Linked DNA regions of Homo sapiens: region 1 is linked to region 2. The links are contacts of gene promoters, found by promoter capture Hi-C in blood cells and fetal thymus (Javierre and others, 2016). All regions are on one chromosome and are shown on one strand. Each heading gives the region's core, a stretch centred on a gene start or on the middle of the fragment in contact. The rest is flanking DNA. Distances are from core to core; before and after follow the strand shown.

The links. Contacts are between HindIII fragments. The CHiCAGO score rates a contact against its expected background, and 5 or more counts as called.
Region 1: the fragment with the promoter of SERBP1 here is called in contact with the fragment with the promoter of SRSF11 in region 2 in 5 of 17 cell types (total B cells, naive CD4 T cells, fetal thymus and 2 more); the score reaches 7.9 in total B cells.

Annotation. Positions count from the first base shown.
Region 1 is chr1:67,426,547-67,431,659 of GRCh38, reverse strand. It overlaps SERBP1 (SERPINE1 mRNA binding protein 1), which reads left to right and starts at 1,258. Exons shown (of 8, transcript NM_001018069.2): 1 at 1,258-1,672. The coding sequence starts at 1,360. RefSeq lists enhancers at 607-786, 817-896, 1,107-1,376, 814-1,449, 2,085-2,721. The HindIII fragment of the contact is 6,007 bases long and covers 1-2,047 here.
Region 2 is chr1:70,219,564-70,225,199 of GRCh38, reverse strand. SRSF11 (serine and arginine rich splicing factor 11) reads right to left here and starts at 3,820. Exons shown (of 12, transcript NM_001350605.2): 1 at 3,361-3,820. The coding sequence starts at 3,563. RefSeq lists a silencer at 3,436-3,485 and an enhancer at 3,381-3,926. The HindIII fragment of the contact is 2,724 bases long and covers 2,051-4,774 here.

The DNA of each region.
Region 1 (5,113 bases), core at 9-2,508, 2.8 Mb after region 2:
GAGATAGAATACTGGGCTAATGCCTGTCACTAGCACTTACAGAGGTGTGAATTTGGTAAATCATTTCATCTCTGAAGTGGTTTCAACATTTGTGAAAAGAGGCAAACTATTTGCCTAACAAAATGTTGAGTTCAAGGTTATTCATAGCTCCTACCAAATAAGCGATGCATTTGCTACTTTGTGTTAATGGAAAAGGACTTAAAAATTATGATATACTTAAACCCGGTGCTACCAAATGTGCTTAAATACGCATTCAAATTGTATTCTTTTAATGAATTTTAATATTCTCAACTAGTATCAATGCTTTGTCATTATTAAGTGTTGACTTCAATATTTCCCTCCCCTCACCGCAACTCCTAGCACACATGCACTCGAAATGTTCTCAAATGATATGTATTGAGCGCATGTGACTAACAACACAGCCACCTAAGCCCTGACTTGCCGGACACGAACGGACGATTAATTGGAATAATTGTAACAGGGTTTCTATAAACAGTGCTTCCTGGAGGCTTGCCCCGCGTCTAGCGCTGCACCGTCAGGAGTTAACCACTCCTACGACACCCGCCGCCACACGGTGAGAAGCCCGGGAAAGACGCGCCACGCTCCCATGTGATAGTTTCACTTGTCTTTTTGGTTAGTTCTGCTACCCTAGTTCATGTCCCCGCGAGAGGAAACGTATTCCCCCTCACATTAGACAGAAGAGCCTCGATTCACCGTGGAGGCTGACGGAGGGCCACTCCAGCAACTGAGCAGCTCGGACTTGGCACAGGCAGGGTCCAGCCTACCCGCGGCCGGCGCGGCGCCTCAGCAACACCCCCTCCCCCGGAAGTTTGTGCGTCTCAGATGTAAGGTCTGGGAGTCACCTTGACCCCCCTGGAGCGGTGGGGAAAGTTAGCCCTGAGCCCGAGGGGGCGTGAGTGAAACCAAAGAGCACTTTCGCGAGTCAGTTACGCCGTCACGGTTTTTTGGTTTCAAGGTAGCTGAAGACCTAGAGAGTTTAAGGGTGGCCAGAGCAGGTGGCAGGACTCCGCCCACCACCACGCTTCCCTTCCTTCAGCCCGCACGCTTCACTCCCCTCATGGGGTCTCGCCTCTCAGGCGCGCGCGAAGAGTTGTCGCGCGGTGCGTCCTGGGAATTGTAGTCCCGACGCGGAGAGTCGCCTCAGGAGAAATGACTCTGGCCTACATACCCCACAGTGCCTTGCGGCGCAGGCCGCTCCCGGATGTGTGCCTGGCGCCGGAAGAGAAGACGGCCCCCCTCTCTCGGCCCGGCCATCTTGTGGGAAGAGCTGAAGCAGGCGCTCTTGGCTCGGCGCGGCCCGCTGCAATCCGTGGAGGAACGCGCCGCCGAGCCACCATCATGCCTGGGCACTTACAGGAAGGCTTCGGCTGCGTGGTCACCAACCGATTCGACCAGTTATTTGACGACGAATCGGACCCCTTCGAGGTGCTGAAGGCAGCAGAGAACAAGAAAAAAGAAGCCGGCGGGGGCGGCGTTGGGGGCCCTGGGGCCAAGAGCGCAGCTCAGGCCGCGGCCCAGACCAACTCCAACGCGGCAGGCAAACAGCTGCGCAAGGAGTCCCAGAAAGACCGCAAGAACCCGCTGCCCCCCAGCGTTGGCGTGGTTGACAAGAAAGAGGAGACGCAGCCGCCCGTGGCGCTTAAGAAAGAAGGTAAAGCAGGGGCAGAATGTGGGGGAGACTGGGATGGAGGGAAGGAGCGAGGGGGCTGCCGGCTGCCACTTGTTTCTGGAGCTCCGAGGGTCCGCGGGAGACTTTGCCGCCTATATCCTCACGTTTCTTCACGCGACAAAAGTCCGGTCCTGCGAAGGTGCCAGGAGCGTGGTAGCCCCAAGTTCAAGCCACCGCCGGCGAGGTTCTCGGAGCCATCCCCTTCCCGCCTCAGGTTGTGAGCAGAGGAGCGTGGTCGGAGATGAGCTGCTCCTCGAGCGCGCTCGAGGTCCTGGGAGGCTGTTGCCTTCCCGCCGGATTCCTTGGCGGGTGAGCGCATGGACTGAGGTGCGGGGAAGCCGGCCCCTCACCGAAGCTTTCCGTAGTTACGGAGGAGCTTGGGGGTCCATCGCTGCTTACTGCGCAGAGCTGCTCCTTTGAGGTGCTGTTGTTTCAGGCTCCTGTCCTGCCGTCTTGTCCCACGACGGCGCGGAGTATCCCCGCTGAAAAGCAGGGGGTCGTTCCAGGCCATCAGACGTGTGGAGTAAGCTGCAGGTTGGGGTGCCGCATGTCCTTTATTTGTTTCTCTTCCACCTCTCAACTGTTAGGACTTTCTCATAACTTGCTGGGGTGAGTTGAGCCGTTGGGAAATGGAGGAGTTTGGCCACACTCGATTAACCAGGAGCGGGAATTATGAATGAAGACTGGTGATTGCAGGACATCCCGAGGAACGTCCTCGAGTCACGATCCTCTCTCTCGACTCCCCAAACTGAATCTTTCACGTGGTGGGGTCTGGGCCTCGTGGGTGAAGTGAGTGCAGAGGCTGTCACAGCGTTAGTCGCAGCAGAGCTCTTTAGAGTTCGCAGTTTTTTTTTTCCACCACATGTGCGTGAAGCATGGTCAGAGTTTCACTGGCGGTTAATAGTTGTTTCTAGGGCACTGTGAGTTTCACAGGATTGTCTTGATTTTTGCATTCGCTTTACCAGTTTGTTGCGGATGAAAAAAAAGAGCAAGCAGTTTGGAGATAAGAACGTGCATGATCAATAGCAAGCAGGTGTTGGACCTAAGGTCTGAATCTTTAAAGCTGCATTTATATGTTGAAAGTTGAAATTACCCCTTCCTGCCACGTGCTTCTCTGAAAGGAGTTGTTTCTCTTTAGCTTTAGTTGAATTCTGTAACAGTGAACTAATTTTAAAAATCAAAACAATTTTCTCGTGGTAGGATTTGTTTTAGGAGGGTTTTTTTTTTTTTTTTTGAGGACTTTTGTGAGGCTCGGAATGAAGAACCTCGGTCCTAGGTGGTGAATAAAAGAAAATAATTAATTCTTGTGGTAAAATTATAGGTTGAGGAAAAATACAGTTGGAGTATTAGAAAGCATGTATATCACTTAGGCCAAGTATCTCTTCAGCCAGTTAAGCTTTATGGCAATCTAGCACAATTAAATAAATCATTTAATTCGTGTGTTAAGTAACGCTGACTTGTGTAATTATTTAAACTATGCTTAAGCTTAAGAAAGTACACGAAAAAGTTGAATCTGACGAATAATGTGTACCAGGTAGATGTGTTCACTCATTTTGAATGTTCAAAACATGAAGCATGGTTTAAATGCCTGAGTTATTTTGATCATGAAGCCCATCTATGAAATAAGCTCTTACCTGAAAAGTAGTATTTTAAGTTAACAAATGTGGGGAATGATTTCATGAAGTTAGAACCAAGACTTAGGTTCACCGTTCAATGAGTCTTTCCATGGGAAAACTATTCCATGTTAGCAATCAGCATTTTCCTTAGGTCAGTATTTCAGAGCACTACTGTTAAGTTGCATAAAATACAAGCATGTAAAATACAGGAAAAGTGTTGAATGGACAATACCCGTTTTGAGATTCTACTGTCCTGATTACTGGGAATAAATCTGTAAACAAAGTCGCTGCATGTAGTAGGAAGGTTAACCTGATTGTGTTCTGTGATTTTGATAACACATTGTGACATAATACTTGACATACTTTAGACAGATATTTAATGTTTATGTTTTATGAATTAATTTTGTACATTCTCTTGCCCATTTGAAGAACTTGAGAATTGACAGCAGAATGTCATTGAGAGTGTAGACCAGGGATTTTCTAAAAAAGAATGAATGCCTTGAAACTAGTGCAGTTAGTGAGCTTGCAAGTTATAGATAAGTATATCAAAAGAAGCTTGCATTTTTAAATGTCAGTCTTTTTCATTAGGTAGGTTTAATACGTTTTTAAGATTCTGTAAACTTGATATTGGGTGGGGACGCCAACTATTGTTCACTTGGGTGTGTTTGGCTTGGATATTATTGCAAGGACTGGTTCCATAACTCCACCCCAGTGCACTTTATTACTGATGACATTTATTTAAATACCTTGGTGTAAGGTCTAATATTTGTAGTCTATCTTGAGTATTTACAGGGAATGAACTTCAAAATTCTATTGAAGAGATTGATAGTTACTGTTTGGCTCCAGTTAACAGGCAGCAGAACAACTGGGTGTGTCTTGATGGTGTTCTACTTTCTTAGAAAGAACCAAAGTGAAGCAGCTTAAAATCTTGTAAAACCAATTCCTCAGCTGCTTTATGACTTTGTCAGAAATTGGGAATTAGAGCATACCAACAATCTTAAAGTCATTAATTTAACCATCAATCTGTTGATCCTTATGGGCACCAATAATTTAAATTGGTTGCCTTTGTGGGGTTTCAGACATTACAGGAAAAAAGTAGTAAAGGGGGAAATTAGTAAATGCTTCAGCTATCACTTAGTGTCACAAGTTTTCTTATTTCTTACATGTTGCTTAAAAGCGGTCTTAACGTGTGTGTATTTGGTTTTTAAAGATTCTTTGAAAATAAAGATAGTTGTTAGGGCAAATTTTTTAGAGGACTCTCTCCATGCATAATAAGTAACTGTTTCCTAACTTGGAAGTACTTAGGGATGTGGGAGTGTGTACAAACATATATACACTTACATGCTATAAAATTTTAAACTTTAATAGGGGAAGATGGCCCTTTTTGTGTGCCTGTAGCTAAGAAGACCAAAAGATGACACTTTTTCTGGTTAAATGGCTGTTTTAAACTGAAGTGATGTTCTCTAATAATCCTAAATGCCATATTTTCCTTTCAGATTTGTAATTTTATAGAATTATGAGTCTTAATTGCATTTTTTTTTCAGATTAGATAGAATAACATAGTGCGGCCCTCACTTTTGTGAGGGGCCATATCTAGTGAGTGTGTTGATTTGCTTGGTTATTTATGAATGGCTGCTGGTATTTTCTTTGGTATTTTAAAAGCCAAAATGTATTGCTTGCCTAAAATTTTTTAAATTTAAAAGTTTTTATTAAGAGACTATCTTGGAAAGTGACGGGAATAATGGTTGCCCAAATGATTTCCAAGTCAGTTATAGAAAATGCTTTTGAGGGGGAGAACTTGGCAAAC
Region 2 (5,636 bases), core at 2,571-5,070:
AAGTTACTGCATAACTGTGACATACTTCACTGGGATCATCACCTGATAAGCACTTTGCTGGGCAATCCCACTAAAAGAAAGCATGTGAAGATCTTACAAGTTACTTGGCTAAATCAGCAAACTCCTGATCAAGTGGTAAAGGAGAGTCACAACTTGGGTTCAAGTTCTAGTTCTGACATTGGCAGTATGGCTTGGGCATACAAAAAATACCTATGTAAATTTCAGTTCACGAACTTGTAAAACAGGGTCAAAAACATTTTTTTCCTCCAGGTTTGTAAGGATTAAGGTACATTTAGAAAGCAACTCACACACAATAGATATTCAAACAATGCTGCATTTCCAGTACGCATTTCAGAAACAACCAGAATCAAAATAACAGTTTAACAAAGAGTATATGTGGGGTTCAACTTTCAAATACCTGCAAAGCCATCATGCTGTAGAGACAGTTAGAATATCACCTATTGTAAAGATAGTATTTCTATTTCTCAGTAAAATTACAGGCCAGAAATTCTGGTTTAAAAGAAGGAATAAATAGATGGACTTAACAATGACAATGCAGGAAACCTCCTAGAGCAGGTTGTCATTGAAATGTCTGTCATAATCCCAGAAATGTTTCCCCAAAATAGGCATTCAGAACCGAAATGAAGAGCTTCAGTAGGTGTGGGTGAGGTTCAGTCATACATGTATTTTAAAGCACCTCATATTCTACAGGAGAGAAGTTGTTAAACTTAACCTGTCAACTGGTGACAGGTGCTATAGAAAAAAAGTAGTGTTAAGGAGAATAAAGCAGCAGCAGAGGTGCTTTATTTTACATAGGGTGGTCTGGGAAGTTTTCTCTGATTAAGGTGACATCGGAAAAATAAAAGTAGTTAAGCATGTCACAGATATGTCTAGGGGAAAAAGAGTTACAGGTGCATGTCACTGCCTTCTTGGGGGAAATCATATAGTTTTCCCTCAGTATCCATGGTTTCAGGACTCCCTGCAGATAACAAAATCCACAGATGCTCAAGTCTCTTATATAACATGATGCAGGGAGGGGGAAGAGGTGGAGGAAAAATAAAATCATGGCATATTACCTGTGCACATCCTCTTGCATACTTTAAATCTCGTGATTACTTATAATACCTAATACAATGTAAATAGTTGCTATACTGTACTGTTTAGGGAATGACAAGAAAAAAGTCTGTACATGTTCAGTACAGACGTTCTCTCCTTATATTTTCAATTCACAGTGGGCTGAATCCATGGATGTGGAACCCAGAGATGAAGAAGGCCAACTGTGTAGATAATAGTTACAATCAGGTGACCTGTTCACAACAGATAGAATTTTATGTAATCTGAGCCATTCAATGTTATGAATAAATATTTTTGGAATGATGAACCCTGTGGACCACTGGGAACTATATGCAACTTGTGCCAGTCAGATTAGTGTATTGAAACTTATAGTTAAAAAAACAAAATGCAACATCAAGTAAATAAAAGTAGCCATCTACATTACTGATCAAATGTAGAAGGCCACTAATAACATTTAACTTATTGTAACCTTGTACATTTTAAAAGACAAAATGATCTTGTATGTGGGAAGATAAATGAAGGAGTCAGAGTAAAAATGTGTCAATTTATCTCTCTTTCTCCCAATACTGGGAAGGGAGTCCTTTTAATGCAGAATATCCCAGATCATATAGTTGAGGGAGACATTCTCAAGCACACACTAGCTGTCCTGGTTATGAAGGAACTATTCATTTGATTACAAAACAAAAAGACTCTGGTCCATCACAACTTCCTCTAGTATACTGGTCATGCATTAGGTAAAAGATGAACCAGTATAATGCCTACATCTCTCTTACCTTTTTTCTAAATGCATCATAAAACTGCCTTCAGAGAATAAACAGCATTTAAAAGTCAGCAACCATAACAAAATTTTTAACTTGTAGGATTGGAAAGAATTGTAGTAATTCGAATACCTCAAATATCTCACTAATAAAACTATTAAAATCATCCAATGTATCACTATTTTCTGCTATTTTACTGTTCATTAATTTTACAAGCTTAAAACAGTAAGTCTTGAGAAAACTGAACAACAGCAAAGCATCTATTTTTGTATGTTCATGTTATGAAAGCTATTTGTCTTTCATTACCAAATCAAGTATCTGTCAAAATAACAGGAATAAAGATTTACGTGTTTGTTCCCAGAACTCCACGTCATGCAAACTAAGTAAATCCTCTCTCCACATGTACATTTCCCTAAAAATTAGAAACATACCAATTTGAAAACACCAATAATCTTGTGAAAGTATTTTAAGTGGAAAGTGATGAAATATGCTAATACTTAACAAATATCTCATTATGATAAACTTTTGTCAATTATTTTATTGAGCAGAAAGTTAATGGTTACACGTACCATAACAGTAGATTCTTAGAGGATTCCAATTTCCTGTTTAGTATTTAAGTGACATCATAAAATTCTCAATATATGATATTTACTGATAATGACATTTGAATTGTCACTTCTCCACCAATAAGTCTTCCAAAAAGCACAAGACTATTATTATTATTCCAATTGTCTGTTTTAGTAGTACACTTTATCTTACTTCTTAGCTTCTTTGAACTATTTTTTCTTTACAATTCATCCACTTAATATTCTTGCGATAGAAATAATTTTCAAAATAAAAGTGAGACAAAAAGGATAAAAAGTCATACACTCTAATTCAAATTTCAACATTTATAAAAATCCTTCTCAAGAACAACTGTGAAATATCACAAATCTGTATATTATTCAAACAAAGGAAAATCTCTGGTTTATAACCCGTTTTTTGACATTATACAAATTAAGTAATCAGGCTCACACTAAACTAAGCGTCTGTCAAAAAGAATATGATCTTTGAATTATATTGCTGGGCCAGAACCACATAACAGCAATAACAATAAGTGAACAACCTACAAAGTTTAACACCAAATTAACACAGGCATGAATAATTTTGTTACCTTTCTTCCAAGAACGCAAAGAACAAATACTCAGTTTTTTAAAAAAGGGATTTAACCTATATACGACGTACAGACTGCGGTTAGTCTTGCGTTAAGTCCCCAAAGCCAAACGACCACGTTGGCACAATTTAAGGCGGAAAAAAAAAATTTCCCGAGAATAACAGCCAGTGTTTCCTAATTCCAAAAAGCCCTGGCCCTGCCTCTCTGCATTTTTTTGTAGGCCTGGAACACAACCGTCTTAAGTAAATCCACCAGCCACCAGCCACTCAAGCAGCCTGGCCCGGGGAAGCAGCGACAGGGGCCTAAGGAAATTGTGTGTGTTAGGCCCAGGCTGAGGCGGCGTTAGCAGGAACAGTGATGGTGGACGATACTCACTCCGGCGGGAAGAGGCGCAGTTCGTCGATCTTGCCTAGGAAACCGAAGAGAGTCCGCATCTGCTCAGAGCTAGCGCTCGGGGAGACATTAGTCACCTGGATTACCTCGGTGCCGCCGCCTCCGCCGCCACCACCACCTCCGCCACCGGGCCCGCCGCTGGGGCCCGGACCTGCAGTGCTGGGGACGACGGTAGTGTTGCTCATGGCGCTGCTCGGGTTCTCGCTCCTGCTTTAACACATCAAACACACAACAAACAGTGAGAAGGAGGGGGAAGAGGAACCGGATTGCGGGAGAGAGGAGGGTGTCCGATGCTACAGCCTCTGCTACTGCTGCCGATGCCGCCGCCGCCGCCGCCGTTTCTCCGCCCCGCCGCACGCCGCGGGGGAGGGGATGAGAGCGCGCGAGCTCGAGACCACGAGAAAACAAACGGCCGCCCCACCTCGCCTCCAACCACGACACTAGCGGGCCCGAGCTCCCACAATGCTTTGCGGCGCAGGGCGCGTCAGCGTCGGCTCCACCCCGCGCAGGCCCAGCAGCCGTCGCCTGCAGCCCGAGAAATGAGAGGCACCGGGGTCTAGAGAAAGGTGTTATCCACCTTCGTCTCTCGTTTTATTCTTCTTTTTCTTCTCTCTTTTTTTTTTGGAAGAGCGAAGAGGCACGTATAAACTTTTTTTTTAAAAAAAGCATTCATCCTCCTGCAAAAGTCACTTCAGCAACTCTTCTTATTAAATACTGCTCACGATGTCTTTATATACTGATAATCATCTACAGAGCTATCCGATTACTAATGATATTTAAACCCAAGCTAAGATGCCACCCCACCACCACCAGTATAAAATGTCCCGAAATTTTCAATGTACATGAATTTTGGTAACATTAAATCTGTAACTAATTTGTTTTGTCACTAAAACTTTCAGAAAAGATATATTTTAATATTACACTTATTAATAAGCGTTTTGTACATTCATTCACAATGGATGACTTTTTTTTTTGAGACAGAGTCGCCCTGTCGCCCAGGCTGGAGTGCAGTGGCACCATCTTGGCTCGCTGCAACCTCCACTTCCCCTGTTCAAGCCATTCTCCTACCTAGGCCTCGGGAGTAGCTGGGATTACAGGCGCCTGCCACGACGCCAGGCTAAGTTTTGTATTTTTAGTAGACATGGGGTTTCACCATGTTGGCCAGGCTGGTCTCCAACTCCTGACCTCTGGTGATCCACCCGCCTTGGCCTCCCAAAGTTCTGGGATTACAGGCGCGTGAGCCACTGCACCCAGCCAATTCCACAATAGCTGACTTTGGAAACACAGTTTATAGTACTTAAATATATTCAAGTATATATTTCTAAAGAAAATACTGCAATTTCTCAAGAAAAACTTGTTTCACATACATATTCTTGCTTAAAATAATTTTGAAGCTTTTGACTATTAAAAAAATCCTTGCTTTTGTTTTCAACCTCATCTGAACTATTCTCTCAACTGCATCCAGTGTGTAGTCCAGTGACTTGTAGTGCCCCAAACATGACAAAAACCATAATGTCTCTGTGCCGATACACAAGTTATTAATAACATCACTCATCTTATCTGTCATCTTCTGTAGAGCATTCCTTCCCTCACTGCTATGACTTCTGCAAGCTGTTAGGGCTTCCTCTTTTCTGCTAAGTAACAGAAGATACATGTATTTATTATTGACATGTATCACTCAAAGTTGTGAGCTTCCTGGGTCAGTCCAGAACCTGGCACAATGTCTGTCACACAGTCAGTCCCAATGAATGTGCTGGACACACGCACAAATATACCTTAATGACAATGGCATTTAAGACAGTTCACTAAATAATTCACTTGACCTTGAATGTTTTTAGAGGTAAAAGTTTTAGATGTTTTGGAGGTAAAAACAAACAAACAAACTTGAAGCCTTACAGAGTATCTACATTAGTGAATACCTCTTGGCACAATGCAGTCAAGATGCAATATGTGAGAGATTAGAGCACAAGGTTATTGAGATTTGGGTGTAGAGCCAACTGGCTAAGTGACTTTCACTAGTGCTTATACAGAAAATGGATGGGTTGACTGAATGTGAGCCTCAGCAAAATTACAAATTATGGCCTTCATAGAAATCAACTAACATTAGCTAGAGCCAAGACTTTTCAGAATTTTAAAGAAAAGCATATAGCTGTCCCTCAGTATCTGTGGGGGATTGGTTCCAGGACCCTCCCACAAATACCAGAACCAGAGGATGCTCAAATCCCCTATGTAAAATGGTGTTGTGTAATAAAGCATTT